Regions from separate parts of the Homo sapiens genome. Here region 2 is linked to region 1. The links are contacts of gene promoters, found by promoter capture Hi-C in blood cells and fetal thymus (Javierre and others, 2016). All regions are on one chromosome and are shown on one strand. Each heading gives the region's core, a stretch centred on a gene start or on the middle of the fragment in contact. The rest is flanking DNA. Distances are from core to core; before and after follow the strand shown.

Region 1 (4,754 bases), core at 572-3,071:
GGTACTTTTATTATTTTATACCTGTTCTGTACCACTCCACAGGGCAGAGCCAGGACCAATGTGTGTAAACTACTGGGAGGCAGATTTTAACTCAACAGAAGCAAAAATCAATTAATTAATTAATTTTAAAACTCTGAATGATTAGAACTTTCTGAGATTTCAGTGAGATATCTTATAAGGCAGTGAGTTCTCCATCACAGGATTTAAGAAGAATAAGGATAGAAATGAATGAAATGGGACTTCTCTAGGAAAGAAACTATACAAATGAGAAACCAACCCTTGATGAAAAAATAAGAAGGCATAGTGAAACTTGGTTTTAAAGACACATCTCACAGAGAAATTGGAAAGTAAAACAGTTATAAAAAAGATATGAAGGTAAACTAATATTTGTCTAAATGCTATCTCAACACAAAGTTAATCAGATATCAGAGAAAAGCAACAAACAGTTCTTAAAAGGGGAAATTTCACATGAATTTCTGTTCAGAAACTTACTAAACAGCCTGGCTTTAAAACAAAATCCCAGGATCCTCACAGATCAGATGGTCATCTACCCTGAAAGTGTAAAACACAGAGGGAAGGGAAGTAGTATGCTCTGTAGGGGAAAGAGCATCTGCATAAGAAAGTAGCATCCAGGCTGATGTGAGTAGATGAGAGGCAGGCATAAGGTTAAAGATCATAAAATACTGTTAGATAAAAAAAAATACATATTGCAATGACAATTGAAAATGCTAGCATAATTGTAGTCCTGCTATTCAGTATGTGGTCAACAGAATTATTGCATAGTTTAATATGGAATGCCCTCCCTGCTGCATCTATCTTTTGGGGTCCAGCAGTCCCAGAACTCAAATATTTGTTGATTTAGTGAATTAATATAAACTTCCTCAACCAGAAGCACCAAGAGGTGGCTGGTTAAGGATTGAGAGTCCCAGTAAAATCTATTTATTCTATTATGAATAACTACTGAATAATTTATATATATGTACACATGTATATAAATATATTTTATAATCTATTCAGTGTGTATACATGCATATATATGCGTGTATATATATACACGCATATATATGTGTGTATATATATACACACATAGAGAGAATAATGCCAAGCTCTCCACCAAGGACTATCCCATTTCAGATAATAAGTGTTCTGGACTGTTTGTACTTAGATGGACAAATACGTATTTGATTTATGAAAATCAAAGTATTCATTCTTTTTAGATCTACAAACTTTACAAACTCAACTCTTTCTACAGGTCTCGAACTGAATGATTACCAATTTAGATCTGGGGGCTCAAAAAAACAAAATGTGATGTCAAGAAAAAGTGAAAGATTGTCTCCCATGAAAGTGACAAGAGATGAAACATGCTGAATGAGCCTAAATGGACATGATGGAGATACGGATGTGGATTAAAACTGAGAGTGTTGGGATATAAGGATATAATACTGATTTATGAAGGTGAACAGTCAAACGTCAGTGCAGGATCTGAACTGCAGGGGAAATAAGGGGCCTTGGTGGCTAAGGAAGGGAGGAGGGGAGAAAGAGGTGGTACTAGGGGAAGTAGCACAGAGGAAGAGGCAATACTACCCGAGACTAGATGCGGACCGTCTCTGGCAACCAGGAAAAGGCAAATACAAAGAGAGGTGAGTGACAATGCCTGGTGTGTCTCGGGTCAGAGAACACTAGCAGGCACTAGCAGGTGGCTGCGGCAGGGCCGCAGATCAAAGTGGTAACTGGGGATCTGAGTTCGGCAGTGACGCGCGTCCCTCACGTGACCAGGAGCCTCTATGTGCCCAAGTCCCTCTCGTCCCGGTCTTTTTTTTGCCTGTCCACCATCTCCCTATTACCCTTTGGTCGAGAGGGAAAGCAGAAGAAGTAAGTTCCCTCTACCCTCTTAAATCGGTGTGAGTGTCGGCGCTGCCTAGTAACCCGGGGAATGGGGTTGACAGAATCGGGATGGCGGAGTCCAGGCCTTTCCCTAAGCTCCAGCCCCGCCCCCCGCGCCCACATTTCTGTGCAAAATATGGTGGTCTTTGGGGCGGGGTGGGGAGGCGAGTACCTCCCCCGTCCCCCGGGAGGGGGGTACAGACATTTGGAAATAGTTTCTAAAAATGCTTCGCTTCCACTTCTCATCTGAAAAGAAATGGCAAGCTTTGCGGGGTGGGGAGGTGGGAGCACGGAGGACGAAGCTTGACGCAGGGGCTGAGACGAAAAGAGAACCCGAGAGCTAGGGGAGCGTGCAGGCAGTGGCTGGTGCCCAGAAAGTGGGGGGTGGGGGGTGTCAGTCAGTCCGTCCCTCCTCCCCACTCCCCGCCCCCTACCCTGTCTTGCGTCTGTGTGCAGGTCTGCTGGTCACAGCGGGGCACCTCGAGGAGAGGACGACTAGGAGCACACGGCCCGGAAAGGTCCAGGTCAGGGAAGGGGTACGCAGTGGGCCGGGACTGGGGCGCGAGGGTGGACGCCGAAAGGCATGGAGTCTGCAGGCCGCACTGTCCCGCCCCTGTCACTGCGGGCGAGGCCTGTAGCAAAGCCTGCTGGGAAAATGGTGGGCTTTCGGGAAGGAGGGGGCGACCGGGAAGCGGCGGAGTCGGGAGAGCCGGAGAGCCTCTGGGAAAGCGCAAGGTTGAGGACCTGGCCCCCGAATCAGGAAAAGGCAGGTATTGGAACCCACGGCCTGGGTGTTAGTCCAGCCGCTTAGTATTCTGACTCTATTCTGCCTTTCTTGTCTCCTAAGAATAACTGTGCTTGAAGAAGAAAATTCCCAACATGGACAAACCACGCAAAGAAAATGAAGAAGAGCCGCAGAGCGCGCCCAAGACCGATGAGGAGAGGCCTCCGGTGGAGCACTCTCCCGAAAAGCAGTCCCCCGAGGAGCAGTCTTCGGAGGAGCAGTCCTCGGAGGAGGAGTTCTTTCCTGAGGAGCTCTTGCCTGAGCTCCTGCCTGAGATGCTCCTCTCGGAGGAGCGCCCTCCGCAGGAGGGTCTTTCCAGGAAGGACCTGTTTGAGGGGCGCCCTCCCATGGAGCAGCCTCCTTGTGGAGTAGGAAAACATAAGCTTGAAGAAGGAAGCTTTAAAGAAAGGTTGGCTCGTTCTCGCCCGCAATTTAGAGGGGACATACATGGCAGAAATTTAAGCAATGAGGAGATGATACAGGCAGCAGATGAGCTAGAAGAGATGAAAAGAGTAAGAAACAAACTGATGATAATGCACTGGAAGGCAAAACGGAGCCGTCCTTATCCTATTTAATGTGTTCGGCCTTTAATTCTGTTTTGCCTGCTAATAGTATTGCCATTGCCACCTGGACTTTCTGTTTGCATTTTCTTAATGCCTTTTCCCATATTCTGAATTTTAACTTTTTGTGAGGCTTTATTTTAGATGTTTAGCATGTAACTCGCTTAAAGTTGAGGTTTCCCCCTAAAATCTACAAGTTTCCCTCTTTCAGTCATGAGCCCTACACATTTGCATGAAAGATGTACATTATATATTGTGAAACGAAAAAAGCAATTTTCAAATGGTATATATTGTATCCCATTTTTGTAAAAAAAATGTATATTTATATATTAATATGCAAAGAAAAAGCTAAAAGTATAGACTTCAAAGGCATAACAGTGGTTGTGTGGTAAGATAATAGGTGATTTTTTAAATTTTTGTTTTATCTGAATTTCTCATTTTTTCAGGACAAACGTTTTACTTGTGTTGCAAAAATATATAATGAAAAAATCACACAATTTTGAAGAAAACTGTCAATCAGCTTATAACGACAATGTGGCACTTAATAAATACTTGTCAGAACTTTAAAAAAAGTGAATCCTATGTTTTTTTCTGAATCTCTTAGGCACAAATATTAGCCAGATATGGATTATATTTAATAGTCATTTTGTTCTCATTTAAATAGGAATAATACTTGCTTTACAGTGCTACTGTGGGACCAGATGAGAAAAAGGTTGTGTGAGCTATGTTCGGGGTCTTTATTCCACCTGCACAGGCAGGACCCCAACCCCTATAGATTCCCTGCAGACATAGGGAAGGTACCCAAAGGAGATCTCACTTGTGCTCACAAACAATTCCGGTGAGATTCCAAGTGAGTGCCACATTCTATTCATGTCCTGCTGTACTCTCAGATACCTACCGTATCTGCTAGGCACAGCTGCTCCTTCTCCTGGGTCCTGATCCTTCCACTGGCTCTCATCCCTGCTGACGTGCTGGACTGCTTAAGGTACAAAGCCTCACTGATTGCTCTGGAGTCCCTGGTGGGCCCAAGCTGAATTGTGTCTCCTGCAGATATATGAATGCCCTTCTTCCAGCTTTAATATTGCACTTAGCTAGGAGGCTACCATCTCAATGCTGCTTAGACCTCAATGTCTTTAAAAAATGCTTAGTAAGGCCAGGCGCGGTGGCTCACGCCTGTAATCTAGCATTTTGGGAGGCCGAGGCAGGCAGATCACGAGGTCAGGAGATCGAGACCATCCTGGGGAACACGGTGAGACCCCATCCCTACTAAAAATACAAAAAAAAAATTAACCGGGTGTGGTGGCGGGCGCCTGTAGTCCCAGCCACTCGGGAGGCTGAGGCAGGAGAATGGCTTGAACCCGGGGGACAGAGCTTGCAGTGAGCCAAGATCGCGCCACTGCATTCCAGCCTGGGAGACAGCAAGACTCCGTCTCAAAAAAAAAAAAAATGCTTAGTAAAATAGTTCTTCCATTTTTTTTTTTTTTCCATTTAGGACCTTCCTTTTCTCCACTGGACTCAAACATGAT
Region 2 (4,754 bases), core at 1,658-4,157, 490 kb after region 1:
GATGGCCAAGCTGGTGGGCTCCCATCTACAGTGACAGGGACAGGAGGCCTGGCAGAAACTGCAGACCCACAGGTTTCACACAGAACCCTGGGCTATGTTGTAGGGGGAGTGGAGGTTAGGACTCTAATTAGGCTAGCAGGCTGATGGGGACAAAAGGGTCTAGGCTGAGGCCCCCAGGGAGGAGTAGAAGCCACACACTGCAAGGAGCCCAATGCAGCCTTCCCGGGGCTGCCAGGCCCAGAATCCACCTTGGAGTGCTCTCCTTCCAGAATCACCTCCAACTCTGCTCTTCCCTGGGCCCTTTCCCTTGCTTCATCCACATCCCCATAATCCCATTCCTATCCCCACTGCTCCATCCATATCCCCACAATCTCATTCCTATCACCCCTGCTCCATCCATATACCTACAATTACATTCCTATCCCCTCTGCTCAATCTATATCCTCACAGTCTCATTCATACCCCCCTGCTCCATCCATATCCCCACAATCCCATTCAGTTCCCCCCTGCTCCATGCACATCCCCACAATCTCATTCAGATCCTTCCTGCTCCATCTGTATCCTCAGTCTCATTCCTATCCGCCCTGCTCCATCCATATCCCCACAATCTCATTCAGATCCCCACTGCCCCATCCATATCCCCACAATCTCATTCATATCCCCCCTGCTCCATCCATATCCCCACAATCTCATTCAGATCCCCCCTGCTTCATCCATATCCCCGCAATCTCATTCCTATCCCCCTTGCTCCATCCATTTTATCACAGTCTCACTTTACCACCACTCCCCTTCCCTGGAGCCACACTCACCTCTTGGTGGAGGGAGATGGAGGCTCAGCTTCATGTGCTCTGCCCATCACCACCTCCCCCTCCTCCGCATTCCATGATGGCCTTAAGCCTCAGCCTCCTTAATGCTCATGGCCAGTAGACTGGGAGGGCCCCTCTGCCTCTGACCTTTTAGCTGAGAACTGAGCAGGAGTAAAGGTCCAAGAGACCCACTTTTTGCATCCCTCTGGGGCACCTCTGGCTCCTGGCAGCCACCTCCATCTCACCACAGGCAAAGAGGACCCCACCACCCACGCAGGAGGCAGCTTCATCAAGCCCCCAAAGCCACAGGGTCCCCCAACACTACCTGGCTCTTACAGCCCCCTATTCCTCCCTACCTCTCCCAAAGTCTATCCTTGGAGGGGATTTGCCCACTCATCTCTCCAAGATTAGAATATAGTTCCCCTTGCTGCTCACCTTTTCTCAAATTCACTCTATAAATGCTATTGAATGATTTACCTAGATATGCTGTCATAATTTCTTTCTGAAACCAGGTAGAGTGAAAAGAGGAATAAATGCTACACCTACCCCCATCCTCCTTTTCACTGGAGTTAGCTTGGAGGTTCAAGATCATTACTTTGAAACCCTGCTGTGTAATTCATCCCCTTTCCTTCCCCCCCATCCTGTCCTCTGTTGTGTAAACCTGAAACTGTCTAAATTTTTACTTCACCAAAATGATGCAAAAGTGAGACTTTTTATTTCATTTTGTGTCACACTGGCTTTCCTTTATTCAAGAAGTATGTATTTTCCCTAATTGGAAGACAAAGAAGACTTGGAGTGATTACAGGGTTAAGTGAAAGAAGGCTTTTAAAAAATTTTGTGTTTGATACCCTTCATTTATAATTATTGTTTTTCCTTTCCTTTCTCCCTTCATTCTCATTAGTCGCCAAGAGATGAAAATTGCTCTTTTGTCTTGTCAGGAGAAACCAGCCTTTGAATGACCTCCTTTTGCAATATCTCCCTCCTTCTTGATACTATTTTCCCTTGTTTCCATGACATCCATCTCATGGTTTCCCTCTCCCAGATCTTTTTGATGCCTACTTCTCAGTGTCTTTTGCCGAATATTCTTTCCCTTCCTGATCCTTCCACAATAGCAATAAAAATTAAAATCACTGCAAGTGCGATTTATTCCAAGCTTATTACATGCCAGGCACCCAGTGCCAAGCCTTTAAAATGCATTATTAGCTTTTCATAGCAACTCCCTTAAGATAAGCATGACTTTCTATTTCTAACTTGCTATTAATTTAATTACTATTAATTGACACATATTTCAGATGATGAAACAGGCTGGGAAGTTAGGAAACGTACTTAGGGTCATGTAATTATTTAGTGGTACAGTCAAGGATAAGACACTGGACTGACTGATCCCAAAGTCTGTGTTCCTTACTTGAGTTAGCCATCATGTGCACAGCACCCCATGAGGTAGGTGTTACTATTATATAAAGATGATACATGAGGAAAGCAAGGTCAACAGACATAATTAGCCAAATATCATAGCAGCAAGTGGCTTGTGCGCCATACACAAGGATGCAGCCTTTAAGGAATACTTGTGTGACACAGGCCACCTTTCTTTCACATCCTCTTGTTGCAGCTATCCTTCCTGCTGCCTGGCAACCATCCCCTCCCCCTTCAGAGTTGCATTATCACATTCAGTTCAGGTATCAAGTTTCCAGTCTATGCTTTTGGTGCAAATGGTTTTGAATTTGATGTATGCAAGAGGAGACAGCTGCAACAATGAGTGGAGGAGAGATAAATTGTTCAATTCATGGTGCTGGGGGGAACTTCATTACCTGATTGGAAAAAAGGTCAGTTTCCTTTCTCCCATGACACTAAATATGAATCCCAGATACATTTGAGCAGTAAATGTAGATTTTATGCAATTATGTATTAATTCTTCTTTAATCGTATATTTTGTTATAAAATGAATAAAAAGAATCAAATGTTCAAAAGCAACCCCTTTTAAAGCTGCAACACAATACATGTTAAACCTCTGGGTTGGAGAGAACTTTCTATGGTTAAGAGTAATGAAAGAAAGTATAAAAGAAAAGACTGATAACTCAGAAGACAGCATTAACAGAAATAAAATACCAACAGTAAGCTGAGAAACATTGGCAACAAATATCATGGAAAGGGGGCAGGGCTGGCAACAAATAAGAGAAGCAATAATAACAGCAAATCTGTATTGTGTTTAGATAGTTAACATTTATTAAGGTCTTACAAAGTGCCAGGCATATTCTACAAGCTCTACATGGCTTTATACTTCATTTCATTCTTACAACAAGCCCTGAGATAGATCTTATCTTAAAATTTCCACATTCTAAAACACTCTTTAAGCGGGGGGCGGGGGGAGCAGAGGAAAGTGCATAAAATATAAATTTACAGCTTAACAAATTATTATAAAGCAAATCACCATAAAGATCAAGAAACAGAACAGATCAGAACTCCAGAAATTCCCATAAGTCCTTGCCCAATCACAACCTCTTTCCTCTCTCCAAAACAAAACAAAACACTCTCATGACAGTTTTAGCTGTTGCTTTCTTACTTTCCTTTATAGCTTTACCACTCAAATATAGATGCCCAAACACTACTGTTTCTGGAGCTTTATGTAAATAGAACTATAATGCATATATCCTTCTATATCCAGCTCATTGCCCTTACAATTATGCTTCTGAGATTCAACCTGGTTGCATGCGGCATCGGTTCATCATTCTCAGTATTGTGTTACAGCTTTCCATTCTACGACTTTACAAGAAATTATCCTTTTACTGTCGGTGGACATTTGGACTGTTTCCAGTTGGGGACAATTATGAAAAATGTTGCTAAGAACATGTTTTTAATGTCTCCTGGTACATATGTGCACACACAAGGTATATATGTAGGAGAGGAATTGCTGGCTCATAGATTGTGTATATTTTCAACTTCACTAGATACCACCAAACTGTATATCAAAGTTGTACCAATTCCCACTTCCACCATCAATGTTTGAGAGTTCCTGTTGCTCCACATCCTCACAAACACTTGACATTGTCAACAAAGCTTCATAACTTTTGCTTGAGGTTTTGTACGTCTATTATTACATTTAGTTCAAGGTAATTGTGTATACTACTATAAATTAAATATTGGTTTAAATTTCATTTTCTAAGGGCTTGTTGATGGTATATAGAAATATAACTGGTCTTTTGATGTTGATATTGTACACTGACTTTGCTAATCTCTTAATAATTTTAATCTGTAGCTTCCTTAGAATTTTCTGCATACACAAGCATGTCATCTGTGAATGATGGTAGTTTTATTTCTTCTTTCCCAATCCATATACATTTCTTTTTCTTACCTTACTGCATCGACTGGGACCTAGAGTACAACTAGTGAGAAGAGACATTCTTGTCCTATTCCTGAACTCAAGGGACCACTTTGAGCAATTCAACATTAAGTGGATGCTTGCTGCAGGTTTTTAGTAAATACCACTTATCAGTTTAAAAATGTTTCCTTCCATTCCTAATTTACCATAAGTTTTTAAAATAATCAATGGATGCTGAATTTTATGAAATGCTTTTTCTGTATCTATTATATATGCTTTTTTCTCATTTATTAGTTAAAATGCTAAATTACATTATTTGGGTTTCTAATAATAAACCAACCAGGCATTCCTGAAATAAACAAGATTTGGTCCTGATTTATTACAATTGTTATATATTGCTGGATTCAATTTGCTAATATTTTGTTTAGGATTTTTAGATCTATGTCTGTAAGAGAGATTCACCTGTAATTTTCCTTTCTGTATAATGTCTTTGTGAGATTTTGGTATCAAAGGTTTGCTGGCCTCCTAAAACTAGTTGAGGAATACAATTCTTCTTTGGCTTTCTTCATTTAAAAACCAGGCAACTGAGGTCCAAGGTGTTTAGATTATTTTTCATAACTGCATTAAATCCA

The links. The method cuts DNA at HindIII sites, captures the fragments that hold promoters and counts their contacts. A CHiCAGO score of 5 or more calls a contact.
Region 2: a contact is called between a fragment that was not itself captured here and the fragment with the promoter of TCEAL1 in region 1, in 1 of 17 cell types (total B cells). The highest score is 5.4, in total B cells.

Annotation. Positions count from the first base shown.
Region 1 is chrX:103,627,154-103,631,907 of GRCh38, forward strand. It overlaps TCEAL1 (transcription elongation factor A like 1), which reads left to right and starts at 1,822. Exons shown (of 3, transcript NM_004780.3): 1 at 1,822-1,872; 2 at 2,341-2,420; 3 at 2,732-3,800. The coding sequence starts at 2,764. The coding sequence ends at 3,243. RefSeq lists enhancers at 1,447-1,516, 2,388-2,682, 2,587-2,636, 2,707-2,776. The HindIII fragment of the contact is 2,900 bases long and covers 1-2,146 here.
Region 2 is chrX:104,116,529-104,121,282 of GRCh38, forward strand. All of the region lies in intron 1 of SLC25A53 (solute carrier family 25 member 53), which reads right to left. Among named protein-coding and RNA genes, the nearest start is that of ZCCHC18, 6.4 kb to the left of the region's middle. The HindIII fragment of the contact is 1,901 bases long and covers 1,958-3,858 here.